Linked DNA regions of Homo sapiens: region 2 is linked to region 1. The links are contacts of gene promoters, found by promoter capture Hi-C in human tissues and cell types (Jung and others, 2019). All regions are on one chromosome and are shown on one strand. Each heading gives the region's core, a stretch centred on a gene start or on the middle of the fragment in contact. The rest is flanking DNA. Distances are from core to core; before and after follow the strand shown. Region 1 holds the start of PBK (PDZ binding kinase). Region 2 overlaps ELP3 (elongator acetyltransferase complex subunit 3).

Evidence for each region. The method cuts DNA at HindIII sites, captures the fragments that hold promoters and counts their contacts. A contact is called where the count stands out against the background at its distance.
Region 2: a fragment that was not itself captured here is called in contact with the fragment with the promoter of PBK in region 1 in 1 of the 25 tissues and cell types used here (dorsolateral prefrontal cortex).

Annotation. Positions count from the first base shown.
Region 1 is chr8:27,833,602-27,840,821 of GRCh38, reverse strand. PBK (PDZ binding kinase) reads left to right here and starts at 3,005. Exons shown (of 8, transcript NM_018492.4): 1 at 3,005-3,170. It also overlaps the pseudogene LOC100130612. RefSeq lists enhancers at 2,716-2,765, 2,836-2,895. The HindIII fragment of the contact is 7,721 bases long and covers 1-7,220 here.
Region 2 is chr8:28,183,222-28,190,541 of GRCh38, reverse strand. It overlaps ELP3 (elongator acetyltransferase complex subunit 3), which reads right to left. Exons shown (of 15, transcript NM_018091.6): 15 at 1-893. The coding sequence ends at 817. Among named protein-coding and RNA genes, the nearest start is that of ELP3, 94 kb to the right of the region's middle. RefSeq lists an enhancer at 4,804-5,306. The HindIII fragment of the contact is 3,059 bases long and covers 3,879-6,937 here.

The DNA.
Region 1 (7,220 bases), core at 1,756-4,255:
GAAGAAAAATGACTATTAAAGGGGGTGAAGGTAAAGACTTAGGAGAGGAGGAGTGATTTGGTTAAGTTTCCTTAGCCCCCATCCCCTGCCTCCTCCTGAGACGGGCTAAGGAAGCTTAGGGATGCTGAAAGATTGGACTTTGAAGGGTAGAAGTAGGTGCTCTATAAATGTGTTTTTTTTTAATTGATGAAGGACAACTTTATTATTTTACACTTAAAAGCTGATGAAAAACCATTACTTATCCTATTAAAGAAAATCTAATATTTCAATTGAAAATAGAGTATACTCATGAAATATTATTTAAGTTTTCTAAAACACAACTTGAAAGCATCCAGCATGCATGATTAATTTCAGTACAGTGAATTCAAGGTCAAGTATACATGTTACATACATCAAAGCTAGATTACAAATTATCGTCCTCATCATCATCATTATCATCTTCTTCATGTTTTTTTTTCCATTGGCAGTAGTTTGTGATGACACCATATTAGTGTAATAAGAATGCCTCTGGACCATTCGTGATGGATTAACCAGAACATTCTGAATTGCTGATGTTACAGGAATTCACGCTTCACAGGGCAATGTGAAGCAGACATCTACACTGTAAACCTTTGCCTTGTGAGGGACATTTGAGTCCTTACTTTAGTTGCCACAAACATGGTTTGGGGGGTGGTGTGCCTAGTGTGTGAACACCTGGTCGGCTAGTAACTGAACCAACATTTAATCTGGGTGAGACAGAAATAATGCAGGGTGTTCACAGGAGAATAAAAACTCCAGACAGCAGTTTCCCATGAGTAGGGGTTATGGGCTGATGAACCCCTGAAAAACAGGGTGTGCACCAAGCTGGCTAAGACCAACTAGACCCAAAGTGGTGCTGGATTTGACCTAGGTTTCACCTAGGACCTCATTATATGCTCATTAACACACTAAATCACACCCACCAGCGCAATGACAGTTCTGGGAACACCCATATTTGGTGTAAAAACGAGTGGCACCACAGTTCCAAGAAATCTCCATCTTTTTCCAAGAATTGTCATAAATATTCCACCCCTTGGTTGAAGAAACCCATACAGAGAGAAACCGCACACCCCACTGTGTGACTCTCTTGAGTACGCCCGCAATCCCCTTTCTTAAGTGTGTACTTTTTCCCTTTGCAACAAATCTCCATACTTTCACTATTTTCCAACTCATCCTTGAATCCATTCTCAAGACGGTGTCAAGAGTCTGGACACCTGCGGGGGTCCAGGACCCACCGGCATTTGAGGACCTCCCCTGGCCCACTGATATCATGGGGACTGTTATTCTTCCCTCAGACGTAGATGCCTTTTTCTGTAAAGACTTAAGCCTGTATGTATGAGACAGAAGTTTGGCAGGACTGATTTCACAAGATAGAGGTCACAAAGACCCCCACTGATAAAACAGATGCAGTAAAGAGGGTGGCCCAAACCCACCAAAACCAAGAGGGCACCCCATAGGGGGCCACTCAGCGTTCCCTTTCCTGGCACACCAGGGTTGGAAAAACCACTCCAGGCAAAGAACCCGGATCAAGATTGAGACTGAAATCCACTAGTGGATGACCTCTGGTCATCCTCACTGCTCATTACAGGCTAATTATAATGATTTAGCTGCCGAAAGACACTCCCCCTGAGTGCCATGACGGTTTACAAATGCTATGGCAACCCGGGGAACTTATTACCCTACATGGTCTAAAAGGAGGAGGAACCCTCAGTTCCAGAAAATCCCCAGGGCCTTCTTGTAAAACTCATGAATAATCCATCCTCTATCTAGCATATGATCAAGAAATAACGGTAAAAATAGCCCATCTGCAGCCCTCCAGGCTGCTCTGCCTGTGGAGTAGCCACTCTTATTCCTTTACTTTCTTAATAAACTTGCTCTCATTTTACTCTATGGGGCTGCTCTCGAATTCCTTCCTGCTCCAAGCCAGGTGGCCTCTGTGGCTGTACCCTAGTTTTGGGGTTTTCCCTGCAACATATAGTTTGGAGCTGTTAAGCAATATCTATTGGGTGGCATTCTAGGACTTGAATACGGCTTGATCAAAGGCGAAGGGGTTTGATTTCTTTGCCTTGCAATATCTAATAAAAATCTCTTGGGGCGGAGAGGTAAAAAAAAACTGGTCGGCGCACACTGGATTGCAATTGCACACCAGTAGCTTTCTTAGCATGGCTTGAGTAAATTTTTGCATCATCCAGAACTGTGGTCACATAGGGGAAGGCAAACTCCAACATGTGATTTATACGTCTTGGCTCATATTCTTTGATCCCCACGACCCTCAGGACCTGCGCCATCCTCGGGGGATGCCTCAGGGCACATCTTCCTGGGGAGAAGCCCTGATCAGAGTTGCGGGGCTTTGTCACCTACATTAATGGATTCCAGTCCCGATCTTGATGCAAGTTCTTTGCTTACTGTGGTTTTTCTAACCCTTGGTGTACCTCGAAACAGAAATGAGCGGCCCCACAAGCGGTACCCCCTGCCCTGAGCTCTGGGCCCCTGGTCTGCCCCACGGCCCATCCCCTCCTGGGGAGCAGATGTTCCTAAATAATCGTTGAATAAATTAAAGAATGTTGAATTGAATGTGGCAATTACATGAGTTAGCAACATTTCTAAATATCTTTTTTTTCCCTCGGCTAAAGATGATTGTTCCTTAAGCTACGCATTTGTCTTTACAGTGTTTCAAGGCCTCATAAACCTATAATAAAATTGACGTCATAATCACGACACATTCAACACAGATGTGAGCGTTTGGAGAGAGCTTCAGCCTTCAGCACAGGCAACTGTGTTCTATTCACCGGGCTGTGCTCCTCGGAAGGGCTGGTGGTTCCTGTAAAAGTTTGTGCTCCCCGCGCCTTTCCTTCCTTCCCTCGTCTTTGGCGCCTGCGGGCACCGGGAGTCCTGGGAGAGGGAGGAGGAACGGCGAATCGGCGGGGCGTGTCCTTCACGCCGCCCCGTAGCTCGGGGCCGAAGCTGGCGCAGCGCGCGACTTTTTGAAAGCCAGGAGGGTTCGAATTGCAACGGCAGCTGCCGGGCGTATGTGTTGGTGCTAGAGGCAGCTGCAGGGTCTCGCTGGGGGCCGCTCGGGACCAATTTTGAAGAGGTACTTGGCCACGACTTATTTTCACCTCCGACCTTTCCTTCCAGGCGGTGAGACTCTGGTAAGAGGAGCTTTTTTTTTGCGAGCCCTGGCGGGGGCCGAGCCCGGAGCCGAGGCCTCTGCGGGGGCTTTCGTGACAGGGGAGGATCTGGTTACAGCCAAAGAAGGATTTTGGCAGCCAGCCCCTTGTGAGCCCCTGGATTGGGGTAAACAGTCTGACCTCCACCCCCGAACCCTGCTGAGCGTGTGAGATGCAGAGGACCTGAGAGTCATGCGGCCCACACTTTCTCTTTGCTTCCCCTTGGAGTTTCTACATCTACTTTGTTTCTCTTTTCTCCTTTACTTTTTCTCTCATTCTTTTAATTTTCCGTTTTCTGCTGCCCGTCCGCGTCGTAGCTTTGTCAGTAGTGTCCAGGTATTTGTTGAGTCCCAGGGTCCCAGGCTTAGGGCCCAAAGGTCACTGACGTTTGACCCGGTAAATCTGTAGATTAGCTTGCTTGAGCGCTGCTCACTTTAATGCTGCCTCTTAAACAGTACTTGATTGTTAAAAATATCTTACGTATTCCACAGAGTATGAAATTCTGCTCACGGTCATCCTACTGCCATTTCTAATTTATCTTCATCTAAATATTCACTGTTTTTTTTGCTGTCATCTTCATGAGAACCTTGTGATTTAGAATTAGTATGGTTATTTAACAATTAATGTTAAGAATGCATATACAATACATAACATAATCTGAAGCAGAGTCTGGGCTACTGGCCAAAAGCTATCTGTCAGCAGTTAATGCCTAAACCTGAGTGTGCAGTCTGGAAAAAAGTGGCCCTCAGACAACTGTGAAATGGATAGGACATGGTACATTGAGGTGCAAATAGCTTAGAGTAGAAGGTGGGACTCAGTCGTAAGAGAACATAATGAAATGTTACGACTTCTGTTTAAACCTAGTTGTTTTTAGAGATAGGTTTTCTTTTTTAAAACGTGCTGCTTCTGAATATCAAATCCTCCGTAGAGTGAGCGGGAAAAGGCAGTGAGACTCATAAGGCTCATCATAAGATTTCCAGGACACTCTACGCGCCAGGGTTTTCTGCATCCTACTTTGTTGGCACCTCCTTGGTTGCTTTGTTTTTCATTTCTCATGCTTGGATGCCCTAGGGCTCACCCCTCTTCTCTCTACAGTTACTCCCTAGATGATCTTACCTAGTCTCTTGGCTTTAATAACGTCTGCGTGCTGCCATCCCACAAACTTAAATCTTCAGCTTGCATTCTAGATCCGTATCCACCCACCTATTTGACTCCTCCACAAAACTCTCCAACAGCTTTCTGTTTCTCAGTACAAGCTGAAATCTTGACTGTGACTACAGTTGAGTAGAAGTCACAGTCCTGTGGCTACAATGCTCTACTTGACTTGCCAGTCCCTACCCTCAGCCTCCCTGACTTTGTCTCATTCTCCCCCTTGCTAGCTCGCCTCTTCGTGAAGATTTCTGCCTCAGGTCTTTGTATTTCTTGTCCTCTCTCTGGAAGACTTTCACTAGATACTTGCTTGGGCCTGCTCCCTCACTTCCTTCAAATGAGTTTCTCAAGGAGACCTTTCTTGACCACTTTAAACTCAAATATTAAGCCCCTTCCCAAGGCCTTCTGCTCCCTTCACTGATATATATTTCCCCTGAAATAGTATATGTTTATCTTCATACTTGTTTGGGTCTTGTTTGCTGCTCTATTTCCAGAGTGTAGAACAGTGCACTGTTAGAGCACATGGTATGTGCTCGAACAGTGCACTGTTAGAGCACATTGTATGTGCTCAGTGTGTGCATATTGACTGAGTGAATGAAGAGTAGCTTCACATAGGTAGATAGAAATCTTAGAAGAAGCTGGATGTGGTGGCTCACGCCTGTAATCCCAGCACTCTGGGAGGCCAAGGCGGGTGGATCACCTAAGGTCACGTTTGAGGCCAGCCTGACCAATATGGTGAAACCCCATCTCTACTAAATACAAAAAATTAGCCGGGCATGGTGGCACATGCCTATAATCCCAGCTACTTGGGAGGCTGAGGCAGGAGAATTGCTTGAACCTGGGAGGCAGAGGTTGCAGTGAGCCGAGATTGCACCATTGCACCCCAGCCTGGGCAACAAGAGCAAAACTCTGTCTCAAAAAAAAAAAAAAATCTTAGAAGATCTCTGAGGTGCCACATCACAGCATCCCATGGGGAAAGATAACACAGATGGAAGAAGGGGAGTCAGAATGACATGGGGAAATTATTTCCGAAGTAGAAATACCTCCTGCAACCCACTCTGCTAAATAGTTTATCCTTTCCCAAAGTTCTGAAACTGGTTTCAGAAATTCTGCTGTTCCTACCGTCAAGTTAAATGGGTCACTTCATAAAATTATTATACTCTTGACAAACACATGTAAAGGGGCTCTTCGGTGTTCTCAGGACAGGTAAATCTGAAGACAATAGTGATTGTAGCTACATTTTAAACAAGATGAACAAGCTTGTCATTAATAGTTAAAGCTGGGCCTTTGAGATGATTTTCTTCCCCTTAGTACAGTTTTTAAAGATGCTATTATTAAGGGCTCTATAAAAAATTTAAGCAAATCTGTCTGCCTCCCAACTTTTTATAGACAAATGAGCTTATAGACATGTAGGAACAGTTTTGCTTTATAATAAATAAATCTAATAGGAAACCTAATTTTTTAAAAAGAAATATAATTTTTAAAATAAAAAAATTCTTAAATATGTTACGAAGAAGTAAACACATTGAGTTGCTTTGTTTATATATGTGGTATGTACATTTTCTTTTCTTCCGTTCTTTTTTTTTTTTGAGATGGAATCTTGCTCTTTTGCCCAGGCTGGAGTGCAGTGGCACGATCTCTGCTCACTGCAACCTCCGCCTCCCAGGTTCAAGCGATTCTTCTGCCTCAGCCTCCTGAGTAGCTGGAATGACAGGTACACGCCACCACACCTGGCTAATTTTTTTGTATTTTTAGTAGAGACGAGGTTTCGCCATGTTGGCCAGGCTGGTCTTGAACTCCTGATGTCAACTGATCCGCCTGCCTTGGCCTCCCAAAGTGCTGAGATTACAGGCGTGAGCCACCATACCCGGCCTCATTTTATTTTCATAGACAATTTTTATAACCATTTATTGAGATAATTAATGTATCATAAAAATCCACCTTTTGAAAGTGTAAAATTCAATAGTTTCTAGTATACTCAGAGATGAATATATTAAACCATTATCTGGTTTTAGAACCTTTTCTTCACCCCAGAAAGAAATCCCATACCCACTGGCAGTCATTCTGCATTCTTTGTCTCCCAGTCCTTAGTAACTATTCAGCTATTTTTGTCTCCATGATTTGCCTATTCTGGACATTTCCTAAAAATGGGATCATTGGACGGGCACGGTGGCTTATGCCTGTAATCCCAGCACTTTGGGAGGCCCAGGCGGGCATTATCACAAGGTCGGGAGTTCGTGACCAGCCTGGCCAATATGGTGAAACACCGTCTCTACCAAAAATATAAAAATTAGCCAGGTGTGGTGGTGGGCGCTGGTAGTCCCAGCTACTCAGGAGGCTAAGGCAGGAGAATTGCTTGAACCTGGGAGGCAGAGGTTGCAGTGAGTCGAGATCATGCCACTGCACTCCAGCCTGGGCGACAGAGTGAGACTCCATCTAAAAAAAAAAAAAAAAAAGGATCATCATATATGTAGCCTTTATGTGTCTGGCTTCTTTCATTTAGTATAATGTTTTCAAGGTTCATTCTTGTATATATCAGCACTTTATTCCTTTTTATGACTGAATAATATTCCATTGTATAGATATGCCACATTTTGTTTATCCATTCATCATCTGATGCAGAGTTCTGTTGTTTCTGCCTTTTGGCTGTTATGAATAATGCTGCTTGAACAGTTTCCTTAAAGGATATAAGAGAGCTGTTAACAACTGCTCCTGGGAAGTATAACAGGGAGACATACTGTTTACTTTTTTGTACTAGGTGATTTTTTTTTTAGCTAAGTGCATATATTACTTTATAATGAAAACAAAAATACCCAATCACTAATATTATGATGGGGGTAAGTAATTGTACTTTTTGGTTTTAGTTTCCTCATTTTAAGTAAA
Region 2 (7,320 bases), core at 4,159-6,658, 350 kb before region 1:
TGATTTAGGGGCACACAACCTGAGACTCCACCCGCTCAGGATAGACAGACAGGAAAGCCAAACGCTCTCTGGGGACCACACTTGGGGCTGCCCACACTGCTCTGTAGTTGCCAAGAGGGTGGGAAGTAGAGATAACAAAGAATGTGGAATGAAGCTCTTTGTCATCGCCGTCTCGGATGGTAGACTCCCGCCTGGGAGAGGCTGCTGGCTGGCTGCTGCCAGGCTCACACCCCCACAACTGCAATTCCTCTTTCCCAGTCACACTGCTATTTATTTCTAAACATCAGCACTGTAATCAGAATGATTTCCATGAAAACAAAAGCTCATTTTCCTAACTTGCGCTCCAATGCGTATGTCGTTAAAGGGCTGAGATTAGAGTCTGGTGGTTTTCCTGTTTCAACCTGACTTTCTGTCCCCAGGGTATATAAATAAACTACTCTTAAGTTTGCTCCTCGAATGACAATCAGTTTTATTGCATGAGTTATGGTGTCCAAATGAGTTAATTTGCTTTTTTCACCGTCTGAGTCAAAATAGGCCACCTGCAGGCCTCATGCAAAATGTAGAAACTGGATAGATGATTTAAGCCTCAAAAACGCAAGTGATTTTTTGGGGTGCACGCAGGAGAGGGCGGATCTGGGGTGTGGTCAGCAGATGACCAGCCGTGGCCTTGAAGGCAGTTTCCAGTCTCTGCAGCTGCGGGATGAGGGTGAAGCCCCCCATTTGCTCTGCTCAGCCTCTCTGTTGAGTATTTAAGAAATCCTGATTCTCCGTGTTCTGCCAGGGAGGATACTGCAGAAGAGTGGACTGGTGTGGCCATTATTTCAGCATCTTCACCATGTACGGGCCTTGTAATCTGTAGCCGATCTTTCTATAATAATTCCTGGTGCCGACCCCTGCAGAAAAATCGAAGTTAAAAAAGGAGCATTCACTTTAGCAATTCTCAAAAGTCGGCATGTGCTTCCCTCAGCCTTACACTCTCTCCCACCCAGAGACCAAATTCTCTCCCACATAAAATCTCAGCTTAATAAGTTTGGAACATTATTACTTTGAATTCAGGCTGCATTAAAATATAGAAACTGCTAAGTGGAGAGAAGAAGACTCTTTCCCTGATTTTTAACTCAAGCTCAGGGTATGTGACACACACACTCACAGGCAACAGCAAACGTGTGCACCCGTGTGTTGGAGCCTGCGTATTCACTACCCTACTGGCAACACCAGGCACCACCTTAGGTGCTACAGGTGAAGGAGAAGAGGTGGATTTACTGTCTGAGCTGCCTATGCTCCAGATGAGGCCAAACGATAGACGGTTTCCCAGAAGTTTTAAAGAGAGAAGAGTGGGGGAAAAAATGGGATCTCCACTCAGCCCCAGTAGCGAAGGTACACTTGTGGCTACTGTCAGAAGTGTTGGAAGTATACAAGGCTTAACAGGAAAAAGTGTTTTCCTCATCAGTTGGTGTCAAAGAAGCAGCTTTGCTGGGATGGCCCTGGCTCATGAAGTGTGGTTTGTGAAGAGAAGTGTAGGTTTTCCATACCAAGCAACTGTCCAGTTCTCTGTTGACACCAACTGGGTGTTCTATAATTTAACTCAATTTGGACCCTACCTACTCTGATGAGCGCAAGGCCCCCCAGTTCTGAGCTCAGTCCAGAGACTGCCCCCAACTTCAGACACCAATTGCAAGCAGAGGGGCTGCAGGTTGCCTACAACTGCTGTCCAAGTTGGCTACAAATGGAGGGTTCCTACAAGCCCCTCCTCAGATTTGATAATTTGTCATAATGGCTCACAGAGCTCAGGGAAACATTTACTTACGTTTACCAGTTTATTACAGGATATGATAAAAGATACAAGTGAACAGCCAGGTGAAAAGGCACACTGGGTGAGGTCTGGGAGGGTCCCGAGCACAGAAGTGTTTGTCCCCACCGCGTTGGGGTGCACCATGCTCCCAGCAAGTGGATGTGTTTGCCAAAATGAAAAGTTCTCTGAACCCCATCTTTTAGGGATTTTTATGGAGTTTCATTGTGTAGGTATGATCAATTACTAACTCCATTTCCAGCCCCCTTCCCTCCCCGGAGGAGGGAGGGTGGGGCTGAAGGTTCAACCCTCTCCTCATGGCTTCATTTTTCTGGTGACAGGTCCCCACCCAGGAGCCCACCAAGAGTCACCAGATTAGAACAAAAGATGCCCCTTGAACCCCTGCAGCTCAGAAAATTACAAGGGTTTTAGGAGCTCTATGTCAGGAACCAGGAACAGAGACCAAATTATATTTTTTATGATGTCTCAACATTCAAGGAACATGAACTAGTTGAAGTTGGTACTAAAGGTCCATTACCCCTGCATATTGGACGCATTCCTCAAACAGCCCGGCTGTCTGTGCCTGGGAGTGAGACAGCTGAGGCTGGGCGGGGAGAGCGATCAGCAGCACCTGCCACAGGCACTCCCTCCGTCCTTCCCTCCCTCTCTGCACGTCCCTGCACTGGGCTTTGGAGAAGTGCATCTCCTGATTCTCCTCTAGCTCGCTGGCTGCCCTTCCTTAGTCTCCTTTGCTGCTTCCTCCTCGTATCCCTAACTGAAATCACTGCAATATGCAGCTCTTCTGTGCACGCGCTTCCTGTGACACTGAGCGTAAACCTATGTATACACTGGCAACCCCTAAATCTGTCACTCAGAGCTCTCCTTGAGCCTCAGATTCGTCCACAGGTGCTGCATGACCCACCTGAATGTCTAAATTGCATGGAAGGTGTAGCAGGTCAAAAACCCAACTCCTGGTAACCTGCCCCGCAAGCTCCCTCCGCAGGAAGCTCCCTCTCTGTAAATGGCCACTCCACTGCCAGTTGTTCAGGGCAACTCATTCCCATCTTTCTGTCAAATTCCAAATCAAGAGACTTGAATAAAATGAAAGAGAAAGGCCTGAGGCTACATGGGGGGGACAGGATTCTAGGGAGCAGGAAAAACAAATGTGAAAGTCCTGAGACGGGCGTGCACTCAACTTACTCAAGGAACAAGGAGGCACCATCATGCAGGTCTCCTAAGGAATCTGGCTTTTATTCTGAGTGAGATGGAAGAATGAGAGGATGCTGGTCAAAGGAGGGACATGATCTGACTGCTGTTTTGAGAACAGAATGAAGGCTCCAGGAGGGCAGGGATTTTGTTTTATTCACTGTAGAGCTGCCAGTACCCAGAGTGATGCCTGTCACATGTGAGGTACACGGTAAATATTTGCTCACTGAATGGATATGTGACCAAGGGCAGAAATAGGGAGATCAGGTAGGAAGCGATGACAATAATCCAGGTGGGAGATGGTGGTGGCTCGGGCTGAGTCACAGTGGTGAAAAGTACCCAGAGCCTGGGCATATGTGGAAGGCAGAGTGAAAAGAATCTGCCAACGGATGTGGGGTGTGACGGGAGCCAAGGCGACTCCAGGGTATTTAGCCTGAGTAAAGGAAGAGTCTGGAGAAACAGGAGCCACCACTGCCTGGGAGTGAGGAGATGGTGGGAAGAGCTTGCAAGAGGAATCAGGAGTGGGGCTCCAGTCAGGCTGCATGTGGAATGGCTGCTAGACATTCATGCCAAGATGCTGAAGACTCTGATTTTGGAAGCTTTTGTTGTTCTTAAAGAGACACAGGGAGTGCTATGGGTTAGGTATTTGTCTCCTCTGAAACTCATGTTGAAACTTAATCCCTATTACTGAGAGGTGGGGCTATGAAGAGGTGACTAGAGTGTGAGGGCTCTGCCCTCATGAAAGGATTAATCTATTCATGGACTAACAGGATAATGAGTTCTAGTGGTTTTACAAGAAGAGGAACAGGGTCCTGAGCTGGCACATGCAGCCCTACCACTGTGTGATGCCATGTGCTATCCTGTGCCACCGCAGGACTCCACAGAAAGTCCCCACCTGCAAGAAGGCCCTCACTAGATCCAGCCCTTTGACCTTGGACTTTTCAGCCTCCAAAACTGTAATAAATAAATTCCCTTTCAGGTATCCTGTTATAAGCAATCGAAAATGGACTTAGGGACGGTCTCTTTTCTTGGATGTTGCTTTGCAAGGTAATTTCGGACGGGGGCAGTTGTCTTCCAAGGGGCTGAAGTGGTGATGAAGAGTGAGAAGGCAGAGCCACCTGGCTCCTTTTTGAAATTGCCGAACCCTGAATTAATCAGTCCCAAAGCTTCTCTATATATTTCTTATGAAATATTTTCCATTTGGTTTAAGCCATTTTGAGGATATTTTTGCTTTTAAGTATACAGCTCGGTGTTGCTAAATACATTCACACTGTGGTACAACTATCACCACCATCCATCTCCAGAACTCTTTATCTTGTAAAGCTGAAACTCTGTACCCACTAAACACCAACCCTACTTGCTCCCCCTCTCCCAGCCCCTGACAACCCCCGTTCTACTTTCTGTCTCCATGAATTTGACTCCTGTAGATACCACATGTAAGTGGAATCATGTAATATTTGTCCTTTTATAACTGGCTTATTTCACTTAGCACAATGTCTTCAAGGTTCATCCATGTTGGGTATAAGTCACTGAGCTGAGTTTTCTGTTACTTGTTAACTAAAAGTATCATAACTGACAAGGAAGCTTGAGGACAGGAAGAGAAAAACAAATGAGGTCAAGCCACTATTTAAAATCAGAATTCGGAGTAATTCTGAACACACTGCTCTCCTGCTTAGAATCACTAATGATGTGTCCCAAGATAAAGTTCAAATTCCTTAGCCTGATCCACAAAGTCTTTCCTGCCCAGACCCTTCAACTTTAGTTCCTGGCACAGTTGACTAGGTCCAGGATCAGCAAACCAGCCCAGCATCACCACGCGGGCTCAGCCACTGCCTCTGGGCGCTTCCCTCAGCAGCCGCCCATTCTGTCTGCTAAGGCCCTCCCAGCCACCCTCCCACTCATCCCCCACCAGGAGACCTGTGCAGATACTTCCCCTATCTACAAAGAAGCCAGAATTCACAGCACTCTCTCTCCAGGCTGGCTGTGTGCCTTAATTAGAGTTCCACTGTTTTAGTAATCACACTGCGCAGGTCTGTCTCCCTCCCTAGGATGTCAGCTCTTTAAAGTCAATGGCTTCTATCATCAGTGTCTGGCATATAATCAAGATGCAATAAATGTTTGCAGATCTCTCATATGCTGTTCAGCTATTCTTATGTTGTGTATATACAAAGAAATGTGTTCCTGGAGGATGTATTTGAAAAAAAAATTGGCTCTATGTTGGGTGTTGGGTAATGGAATGATTCAATGTACAAGAGCTGAAGGGCAGGATGACTTCTTAACCTAGGTACAAATTTCCTACCTTGTTAGCTGAGAGATTAAGAGGCAGCTTCCTGACTTATATTATTATCTCTATCTAACAAAAACTGCCCCAAATCTTTCAGAAATACTTCTGGCTTTTTATGTTTCTATTTTACTTTTACAAAACAGATACTGTTTTCCATGGACTTAAAACAATGTATCTTGGAGAATGTCAAACACACAAAAGTGCAGAAGACAGTGCACTGAACCTCCCTGCACCCATCACTCAGCTTTAGCAGGGACAATTCACCCAGGAGATCTCTCTCTTTTTTTTTTTTTTGAGATGGAGTTTTGCTCTTGTCACCCAGGCTGGAGTGCAATGGCATGGTCTTGGCTCACTGCAACCTCCGCCTTCCACCCAGGAGACTTCTGAGTTTCGAGCTTTCTACTCACGTGAACTTAGAAAACATCTCTAACATTTCCTTTTGGTTCTGCTCAGCTCAGTTCCTGGAGACATGTTTAGTTTTGCTCTTTTATATGTCCTCTGTCAAATGAAAATGATGGCCTAATTTTAAGATGGAAGATGTGTAATTGTTGGTCAAAGTGCTTTACTTCCAAAAATATGCATCAACCTATATTTGTCTACCATAAATGGCTGCAGAGGTGAGAGAGAAGAGTTCCTTACATCTAACACAGGACTGGACAGTCCTTGGATAACCAGAAAGTTCAACAATCAAGAGTGCCCTGATTTCTTAAGCATGCTGGTTAAAAGAGCTGCTTTACTGGGGTACATCTAAGCATTTCTCATCATGATTCCCACGGAGCTACAGGCTCCTTGGGCCTTCTACTTTTTCCTTTCTACAGGGGGTGTGCCCTAGAAACGATTACCACCTTGGGCAGGGGCACTCAGGCCTCACGATGGGCCTTTTGGAGGAAAGCTGTATATTGAAGTTCTTGTCCTTATTTTCAATAAGACGCAGCAGGCCTGAGATGGCGAGCTCAGCCCTGAGATGGAACACTGTCTCCAGGTCCTCTGAGAAGTGCTGGCATCCAGGGAAGGGAACTTCACCTCTAGTCAGTCTGGACTCTAACCTCTGCTCACCTAAAGAGCTAAATTTCTTTCTGCCTCTTGTTTTTTGAAAGAAAAATTTCCTCCTGTTTCTACAACCTGCAGAACAGGTTGGGAAAGGCATTACCCCTGCACTTAGCCACCAAGGCTGGGTGAGGGCCTTGCTCTGCTCTGATCCCCTCTCCATGCTCAGCAGGGCTCCCAGAAAGTCCTCTGTCATAGTAACTTTCCTTTTGTTAGCCAGCCAAGAAAAAGCAATCATCCTTCAGAGCTGACGTCAGCCACCCTCCTGGACTGACATGCAGGCTGCCTGGACCGTCTCCGAGCCCTCAGCCTAACTGCTCTGCCTCCGCCAGAGGAGAGGCGCCCACAGGCTGTACAAGGAACCAAGTGCTCCACCCGATGGCCTGCGTGGGGTTCTGCCAAATCCCTGGGATGGGGAATGTGCAGGAACTCACTCCATGCAGCGGCCTCAGGGTGCCCTGCTACAGAGCCAGCATTAAGAACGGCAGGAGTGGGGAGAGTCCAAACGCAGGCTTTGTTTTGTAGCACTTTGGGAGGCTGAGGAGGGTAGATCACCTGAGCTCAGGAGTTCGAGACCAGCCTGGGCAACATGGCAAAACCCTGTCTCTACTAAAAATGCAAAAAGTTAGCTGGGTGTGGTGGTGAGTGCCTGTAATCCCAGCTACTCGTGAGGCTGAGGGGTGAGAATTGCTTGAACCCAGGAGGCAGAGGTTGCAGTGAGCTGAGATCGTGCCACTGCACTCCAGCCTGGGGGACACAGCGAGACTCTCTCAAGAAAGAATGGCAGGAGTTGGGGGAGTCCAAACACTGGCTTTGTTTTATCCTCCCAAGTTCACTCATCTACACCCTGAGCTTTCCTACATGACCTTTTCCCTACTCTGTAGGCAGGATAAATATTTTATCTTCCCCATTCAACCAGCAATGATGATGAGTTAGGTGAAAAAAGAATACCTTGCAAAGTGCCTAGAGTGAACAGCTTCTGTGGTGGCCTCCC